Regions from separate parts of the Homo sapiens genome. Here region 2 is linked to region 1. Evidence: promoter capture Hi-C in 16 types of primary human blood cells and fetal thymus (Javierre and others, 2016). All regions are on one chromosome and are shown on one strand. Each heading gives the region's core, a stretch centred on a gene start or on the middle of the fragment in contact. The rest is flanking DNA. Distances are from core to core; before and after follow the strand shown. Region 1 holds the start of CMC2 (C-X9-C motif containing 2). Region 2 overlaps NUDT7 (nudix hydrolase 7).

The links. The method cuts DNA at HindIII sites, captures the fragments that hold promoters and counts their contacts. A CHiCAGO score of 5 or more calls a contact.
Region 2: a fragment that was not itself captured here is called in contact with the fragment with the promoter of CMC2 in region 1 in 1 of 17 cell types (non-activated CD4 T cells); the score reaches 6.1 in non-activated CD4 T cells.

Annotation. Positions count from the first base shown.
Region 1 is chr16:81,004,241-81,008,710 of GRCh38, forward strand. CMC2 (C-X9-C motif containing 2) reads right to left here and starts at 2,645. Exons shown (of 4, transcript NM_020188.5): 1 at 2,494-2,645. CENPN (centromere protein N) reads left to right here and starts at 2,974. Exons shown (of 11, transcript NM_001100624.3): 1 at 2,974-3,037. RefSeq lists enhancers at 1-59, 2,923-3,032, 3,343-3,482 and a silencer at 2,383-2,752. The HindIII fragment of the contact is 14,741 bases long and covers 1-4,470 here.
Region 2 is chr16:77,723,935-77,728,294 of GRCh38, forward strand. It overlaps NUDT7 (nudix hydrolase 7), which reads left to right. Exons shown (of 4, transcript NM_001105663.3): 2 at 1,497-1,650. Among named protein-coding and RNA genes, the nearest start is that of NUDT7, 3.6 kb to the left of the region's middle. The HindIII fragment of the contact is 377 bases long and covers 1,063-1,439 here.

The DNA of each region.
Region 1 (4,470 bases), core at 1,395-3,894:
ACATCAGCAGCATGGTGGAAACGAAAGTGAAAGGAACATAAGACCTCGTTCTTGGATGTTTCCAGTGAAATAGAGAGGGATAAATTCCATTCAAACTGTTATTATTTGAATAGAATAATATTTAATTCCAGTGCAGACCCCAAGCCAGGCTGCTCCTGGGAGCGACCCCAGGGACTGCCTGGGGAGGAAGGCTTAACTACTCTGACTTCCATCAGTTTGTCAGTCTCATCTTTACAATGGCATTTAAGAAAACATCAAAAAGGTAAACTTGTCACGATTCCACCACCTCCCTCCTCAATCCAGCCCCATCCACTGTGTATGCACACAATGATACCAAAACAGTCCACTGAAATTCCTTAAAATTTTCAGCTGTCAAATGTGTTTTGATAGCTAGCTAAGGGGCCCATAAGGGCAATTTTAACTTTTCCTGGGGAGTAAGCTGGGAGGGTAGAAGCGGTAGGGTACTCTTAGTGAAGATATAAAAATTATAGCTTTCTTTTACTCACTCCTTCAATCTTTGTCTACTGACTCTGAGGTACAATTTTCCTCAAGAGTAGTCTAAGACAGATTTCAACCACCAGGTGGCACAATTTTAGAAAATAAACCAAGAGCCAGCGCTGTATTAACTCTAGTATAAAGAAAACGGGTAAGCATTCTAATAACTCACTTCAGCAAATCTATAATCACAAGGAAGAACCCTGTATTTTAATGCCAGTTGGCTTTTCTTTAGAAAGATTTTCCTATTGTGCGGCTGCACAGGAAATTTACACTACAGTTGTAATTTCTAATGCTACTGCAAAATAAGCAAAAAACAAGGCCAGAAAAGTCTGTTGTGCAGAGTCTGAAGAAACTGTTCTCCAGAAAAAAAAACTGTAAACACTCCGCTTTCTAAAATATATCTTTTTAGGCTAGGCGCGGTGGCTCACGCCTGTAATCCCACCACTTCGGGAGGCCGAGGCAGGCAGATCACTTGAGGTCAGGACAAGCCTGGCCAACATGGTGAATCCCCGTCTCTACTAAAAATACAAAAATTAGCCAGGCGTGGCCTGTAACCCTAGCTACTCAGGAGGTTGAGGCACGAGAATCACTAGAACTCGGGAGGTGGAGGTTGCAGTGAGCCGAGATCGCGCCACTGCACTCCAGCCTGGGCGACAAAACAAGACGCCGTCTCAAAATAAAATTTAAATATATATATATATAAATAAATAACATAAAACATTTTTAAGGCCTACATTTCGGCCCTGGTATTAAAGAATTATTTTTCAACTTTTCAAGCTATGAGCCATACTGCAGCAGAGGTCGCAGACACGGTCGGGGACGGCCTCCCCTGCCCACTTCCACTTATCACAGGACCAGTTCTAAACCGATACCACTAAGAAAGCGACTGGCGCTGGCACTGTAGACCCCATGCCAGGCTGCTTCTGGGAGGGACCCGGGGGTGCTGCCTAGGGAGAAGGGCTTAACTACTCTGACTTCCACCGAAGAGTTTCTCAGAGAATGCGCCCTCGCAGCTTTCCCTGAATAAACATTACCAGGACTTACAAGGTGCCTAGCACTCTGCCAGAATCATGTGAATTTCAGAGGAAAATACTCGTTCACACATCTCAAGGAACGCACAGGCTCGTGAGGGAGCATTCTTGCCAATGCACATGGTAAATGCCCAATCGATGTTCGCGGAATGTCAGAAACTGACAACTAGTTCAGGCCTCAACGCAGTAGGAAAAGGATGAAAAAGAAACTCATTTTAAATCAACTAAACAAGTGCAAAAGCCATACATATAAAGGAGAGGAGATACGAATGGCATCACAACATAATTCCTTTGCCATCGAAAACTTCCATGCCTTTGAGGTTTTAAATGAAGACTTCCAAAACTGATTTACTTAAGACTCTACGTAAAACGCCTGATCTTTAAACGCAAGAAAAGCAAGATGAATGTATTACTTTCCTGGAAAAAAAAAGCATTAAAGGAGAAAAAAGAGTAAAGTGTACTGATGGGGCTCTTGGTGGGTTCTCACATCACAGGGCACTGCAGCTGAGACTTGCTTGAACGGCCCCCGTTTTCTACCCGCAAATTCTCAATTGCTAGATAAACAACAATAACAACACTTTATTGGGCGCTCATCGTGTCAAACCCTGTGTTGAGGGCTCCATTCCTCAAGGTCCATTTTACCGGCGAGGAAGCCCCGGCTCCGGGAGGGGAGGAGCGCGCCCAAGGTCACCAGCCAGTTGAGTGAGTGGCGGGCGGATCCCAACCCCGAGCGACGCCCACGGCCTGTCTCGGCCACCAGCGTGTTCCAGCGAGCGCCCAGCCACCTCGCTCGCAGCCTCCCCAGCGCAGCAGCCCGGCTGTGGGCCTGCGGCAGCCGGGTCTTCCTGGTCCCCACCTCCTGGGGCCGACGGGCGGCAGGAAGGGGCTCGGCGGGACGCGCCATCAGGGACCTGAGGAGGAACAACGGAACGCGTTCGGAACGGCCTGGACTCCCGAGACTCACCCGACTCGTGGCCACACCGGGAGAACTGAAGCGGCAGTAGCCGGCGGAGACGCCCGACCCGAAGGCCGGCTGCTAGGGAGCAGACAGCTGAACCGCTTGCCAGACGCCGAAACCCAGTGACGCCCTCCACCGCTCCACCGTGCTCCCGGCTCCTCGCCCCCGCCGCCCGCGGGCCCCAAGGCGCATGCGCCGCCTGTCCTGGAGGGGCCCATTTCCGTCCGTCGTGGGGGGAGGCACAGTGAGTCCACTGGGGCACGGCAGCGTCTAAGCCACAAGCCGAGCACATAAGCCAGGTCCTAACGGAGCCTATGTGTAAGTCCACTACTGGTGCAAGGTTGCACACTTCTAAGAAGAGCGGCGTGGGGGGCTCGGCGACCTTCGCTTCAGTCGCTCCCCCGTGCAGTCCCCTGTGCCCAAGACACAGCCTGATGCTTGTGCTCCGGTGGGCGGAGCTTGGAGGCGGCGGGAACTGCAATTGGTGGCTTTGAAGGCGCGGCGAGCGGGAACAGCTCTTGAGGAGTGAGACTGCAGGAGATGTGGGCCGGTAAGAGAGCCCCGGGCGGCACTGGATCGGGCCCCGGAGGGTGTGGGGCCTTGAGGAAGCCAGATCCCAGGCCTCGGGGGTGGCTTTTTCGCAATTGTCGCACGTTGTGAGGCGCAGGATTGGCGCTGGGTCTCGGGCTCGGGGCGAGGAACTACGGTTCGGGCCGAGGTGAGGGGGCGGTGGCGCTGTGCCGGCTGTGACGTCACCTCGCCCGCGGTGGGGCGGGTGGAGCCTTTCGTAGGCTCGCGACTGCGTCAGGGGAGGGCCGTGTGGTCATGTGACCAGGGGCTCCGCTCTACGATCCTGGGGTTGCTTCCTTTCCCAGAGTTGGGGTTTTGCTTTTCTGTCACCTCGGCTTCCGTCGTTTTTTGTCCCTGTACCCTCTTGCGTTGCTCCTCGCATTGCCTGTTGGAGCGCAGCAGAGGTGTGTGGCTACGGGAACGTTACTTAAAATGGATCTTTTTGATCATGCGTTCCACAGATCTTGAGCATCTACTGTATGTCAGACACTAAAACGCTAGGAAGTATAAAGAAAGTTTTAAAATGGGGCCAGGCGCGGTAGTTTACGCCTGTAATCCCAACACTTTGGGAGACCGACGTGGGCGGATCACCTTAGGTCAGGAGTTCGAGACCAGCCTGGCCAACATGGTGAAACCCCGTCTCTACTAAAAATACAAAAATTAACCGGACGTGGTATCGGGTGCCTGTAATCCCAGCTATTTGGGAGGCTGAGGCAGGAGAAGCGCATGAACCCGGGAGGCGGAGGTTGCAGTGACCCGAGATCGCGCCACTGCACTGCACCCTGGGCGACAAAGCGAGACTGTGTCTCCGAAACAACAAAAAAAGGAAAGTTTAAAAATGGTCACGGGGTAAACGTTTACTAAAGGGATTTCCGTCTTAATTGGTGAGACTGAGGGCGCTCTACCAAATTTCTTTAGACTGGCGTTCTGCAAACTTTACCCGGAATAAATCATCTGACGTACTTTTTAAAAGATGCTAAATCTCAAGCCCTCCGTGCGCCCTCCTCACAGTTTAATTTGATAGGGCCCAGGAATCTTCATTTTAACGGGTAGCCTCGTCTGTGGGTTTTTTTGTTTGTTTTTTGTTTTTTTGAGACGGAGTCTTGCTTTGTCGCCCATGTTGGAGGGCAGTGGCACGTTCTCGGCTCACTGCAACCTCCTCCTCCCGGATTCAGGCTGTTCTCTTGCCTCAGCCTCCCGAGTAGCTGGGACTAGAGGTGTGCGTCACGACACCCGGCTAATTTTTGTATTTCTAGTAGAGACGGAGTTTCACCATGTTGGCCTGGGTGGTCTTGAACGACTGACCTCAAGTGATACACCACGCCCGGCGCGCTCCCGGCCCCTCGCCCGTGTTCTTAATGGGAGAGGTGTTGATTTGATGTTTCACTGACTGTTGAACCCCAAACCACCCAG
Region 2 (4,360 bases), core at 1-2,500, 3.3 Mb before region 1:
GATTCTGCCCACTATGCAAAGCTGCCTTCCCACAGAAAAAGTAAAATCAGCTGTTCCTTTTCTAGGGCTGCCATAACAGAGTACCACACACTGGGTGTTTTAAAACAATAGAAATGGTCTCTCATGGCTATGAAGCCTGGAAGTCCAAAATCAAGGTATCGGCAGGGCCTCACTCCCTTAGAAGGCTCTGGGGGTGACCTTTCCTTGCCTCTTCCAGTTTCTGGTGGTTTCTGGCATTCCTTGGCTCACAGCAGCATCACTTCAACCTCTGCCGCCATCTTCACATGGTCTTCTTCCCTGTGTGCATCTCTCCATGTTTTTTCTTCTTTTATTTTATTTTATTTTTGAGTCAGGTCTCACTCTGTCACCCAGGCCGGAGTGCAGTGGTGCAATCATGGCTCACTGCAGCCTTGAACTCTGGGGCTCAAGTGATCCTCCCACTTCCGCCTTCCAAGTAGCTGGGAATACAGTTGCATGCCCCATGCCTAAGCTAATTTATGCTTTTTTTTTTTTTCTTTTGTAGAGACAGGGTCTTACCATGTTGACCAGGCTGGTTTCAAACTCCTGGGCCCAAGCAATTCTCCCGCCTCAACCTCCCAGTGTTGGGATTACAGGCGTGAGCCGCTGCACTGGGCTCGTTTCTGCTTCTTATCAGGACAACAGTCATTGGATTTAGAGCTCACTTTAATTACATCTGAAAAGATCCTATTTCTGAATAAAGTCACACTCTGAAGTTTGGGGTAGACATGAATTTCAGGGGTGAGGGGATACTGTTCAACCCACTATACAAACTAGCAGTAGAACACACCTGTCAAAAGGACCAAAACAAGTCCACATAGGAAGGGCACCATTTGCGGTTTTAAATCCAAATGCTTGCATATTATTGGGAAATTGTTCTCAGAATGTGTTCCCCTGTCCACAGCGTCAGTAACGCTGTCATGAGGGAGTTTGATACAAATGCTAATTCTCAGGCCCTACACCAGAGTTACTGAGTCACAGTCTGGGACTGAACCTCGCAGTCTATGTGACAGCCAGCGCTCCAGGTGATTCTGTTGCTGCTAAAGCTTGGGAACCACTATTATAAGCAGTTGAAGACATAAGAGTTTGAGAACATAAGGGCCAGCTTAACAGAAGGTAGTCTTCTAACCTTCTAACCTTAACAATGACTTTTTCATCAAACCTGTCTTCTCTGAATATAATTATGGGTTTCAAAATTCAACTGTTGCATTATTGAAAAAACATTTTACCATACTTTATGTTTCAAAGAGAACCTGTGTACTAAACTGTGTGCTTAGAAGGTTTTTTTGTCATTTTCATCTTGCGAACAACCACGCAATTTAGATAGTATCATTTCTGTCGTGTTATTGAAAAATACACAGAGAGTCAGAAATGGCAAACTCCTAAATACACAACAAAGCAGAAACAGAGGCAGGACTATAAGCTTTTTACCATAACTCTGCTTGCTAAAATGTCTGTCTGGTTTGTTTTTATTTTAGAAACAGTTTGCTAGATGATGCTAAGGCCCGCTTAAGAAAGTATGATATTGGAGGCAAATATTCTCACTTGCCATATAACAAATACTCCGTCCTTTTGCCATTGGTGGCTAAAGAAGGAAAACTCCATTTGTTGTTCACCGTCCGGTCAGAGAAGGTAGGTGGACAAAAAATTTCCTGCCCTTAAACCTCAGGACATCAGAAGACCTCACGAGATTTTGTCACTTGCACACACTTTGATGCCAAAATTCTCAAAAGGGCTTTCAAAATTGTGATGTCAGAGGCATACAACCACAAGCCACAGGATAACATGGTGTTTCTTGGAGAAGGTTTAACAAGAAAATGAAGGAATTTAGCTAGCAAGCAGTTTAAAACGCTTTCACACTAGGGTTACCTAACCTTGGTGCTATTGGCATTTGGGGCTGAATAATTCTTTGGTGTGGAGGCTGTCCTGTATAATGTGGTGTGTTTACCATCATCCTTGGCCTCTACCCACCAGATGCCAGTAGCACACACAAACACAAGCTCACACACACCTTTGTCCCTTTGTCCAGTATGCCAGTAGCACACACACCACAAATGTCTTCAGAATTGCCTACTATCCTGGCAGGATTGGGGGTGCCAAATTGCCCCCCACCAAGGGCCACTGTTTTAGACTATCCCACCCCCAGTATAATGTGAAAATACTAGAGCATAGAAGTTAACGGCCTAGGCTCTAAAGCTAGCTGTCCACGTTGAATCCAGGCTCTCTCCTTGCCAGCTGTGACTTTGGCCTCGTTACTTGCCCTCTCTGTACTTCAGTCTTTTCACTTGTAAAATGAGGACAAAATATTAGTAACTGCTTCATACAGCTGCTATGAACATTTCACAGGGTAACAAATGTAAAGCACCTATATAACCCAGGTACTTGGCAAGGAAGAATTCAGTAAGTTTTAGCTGTCATCGTTAGTGTCAAGTGACCTGTCAGACATGACCTGAAGTTTTAAGATAAATGATGTCACTTTACAGAAATAATGGGCTGGGAATGGAGTTTCTGGCTCACCCCTTGTATTGGTCCATTCTTGCATTGCTATAACGAAATACCTGAGGCTGGGTATGGTGGCTCAAGCATGTAATCCCAGCACTTTGAGAGGCCAAGGTGGGAGGATCACGAGGTCAGCAGTTCGAGACAAGCCTGACCAACATAGTGAAACCCCATCTCTACTAAAAATACAAAAGAATTAGCCAGGCATGGTGGCACACACCTGTAATCCCAGCTACTCAGGAGGCTGAGGCAGGAGAAACACTTGAAACCAGGAGGCGGAGGTTGCAGTGAGCCGAGATTGTGCCACTGCGCTCCAGCCTGAGGAACAGCGAGACTCCATCTCAAAAAAAGAAAGAAAGAAAGAAAAAGAAATATCTGAGTCTGGGTAATTTATAAAGAAAAGAGGTTTCATTGAGTCATGGTTCTGCAGGCTGTACAGGAAGCATGACACAGGCATCTGCTCAGTTTCTGGAAAGGCCTCAGGGAGTGTACCATCATGGCAGAGGGGGAGCAGGAGCAAGAGAGAGAGCAGGGAAATACCACACACTTTTAAATGGCCCCGGATCTCATGAGAACTCACTCACTATCATGGGGACAGTGCCAAGATGATGGTGCTAAACCATGCGTGAGAAATCTGCCCCTGTGATCCAGTCACCTCCAACCAGACCCCACCTCCAACACTGGGGACTCCAGTTCAACATGAGATTTGGGCAAGGACAAATATCGAAACTCTACCACCCCCACACCCGTGAGCACAGTCAGTTTCCCTTGCTGTGGGGAACTTCCAAGGAAAAGCTGGTGAAGCAGTCATTTTAAGCTTATCCAAGTACAAAAAGAAAATAAGCCATATTAACAGGCTTTTTAAGCAGAATAATGAAAAGTATTTTGTTTAAAAAAAAAATGCCAAGGAATCAGCTGGAGTTTTGTGGACGTGGAAGTAGACTTGTGTGGATTGTGTTCGGTCTGAGCCAGGCAGAAATGCCGTGAACTCAGGACATGATAGAAATCCAGGTTCCAGGGGGAAATACTTAAATGGAAACCAGGGGACCAGTGTCTGTTCCCACCTCTGCCAATAAGCACAGGAGAAGCACTTACATATATTTTTTAAAATTATCAGATATGGCCGTGTGCGGTGGCTCACGCCTGTAATCCCAGCACTTTGGGAGGCTGAGGTGGGCGGATCACCTGAGGTCAGGAGTTCGAGACCAGTCTGGCCAACATGGCGAAACCCTGTCTCTACTAAAAATACAAAAAATTAGCCAGGCGTGGTGGTGGGTGCCTGTAATCCCAGCTACTGGGGAGGCTGAGGCAGGGAGAATCACTTGAACCTGGGAGGTGGAGGTTGCATTGAGCCGAGATCGTGCCACTGCACTCCAGCCTGGGCAACAGAGCAAGACTCCATCTCAATAATGAATAAATAAATAAAAATAAATAAATAAATAAAAGAGAATTGTCTAACAAACAATAATATAGGAAATCTAGACAATACTACAAACTCAACCAACGGGGTCTCTAGTTTCTTTTGTTTCACCCAGAGCCACTTTTGCCTGTTGATTATTAAGGTCACTTTTTAAAAACTATTTAAATTTAATTCAATCTGATTGTAAACACTATCTGGCTGTAGGGGTGAGAAATTCCCTCTGGAGCTCTACTGGAGCTCTGCCCCTCACACAAGCAGGGCGCTGGTAGGAGATTTCCCCCCAGTGGATGGGGAAAGCAAGGCAAGAAGTGGGTTAACCCTTCTCAAATGTGCAATCTCCCACTAGCTCTGGAACCTCGAACAAGTTTTTCTTTTTTTTCAGAAGGATTCTCGCTCTGTCGCCCAGGCTGGAGTGCAGTGGCG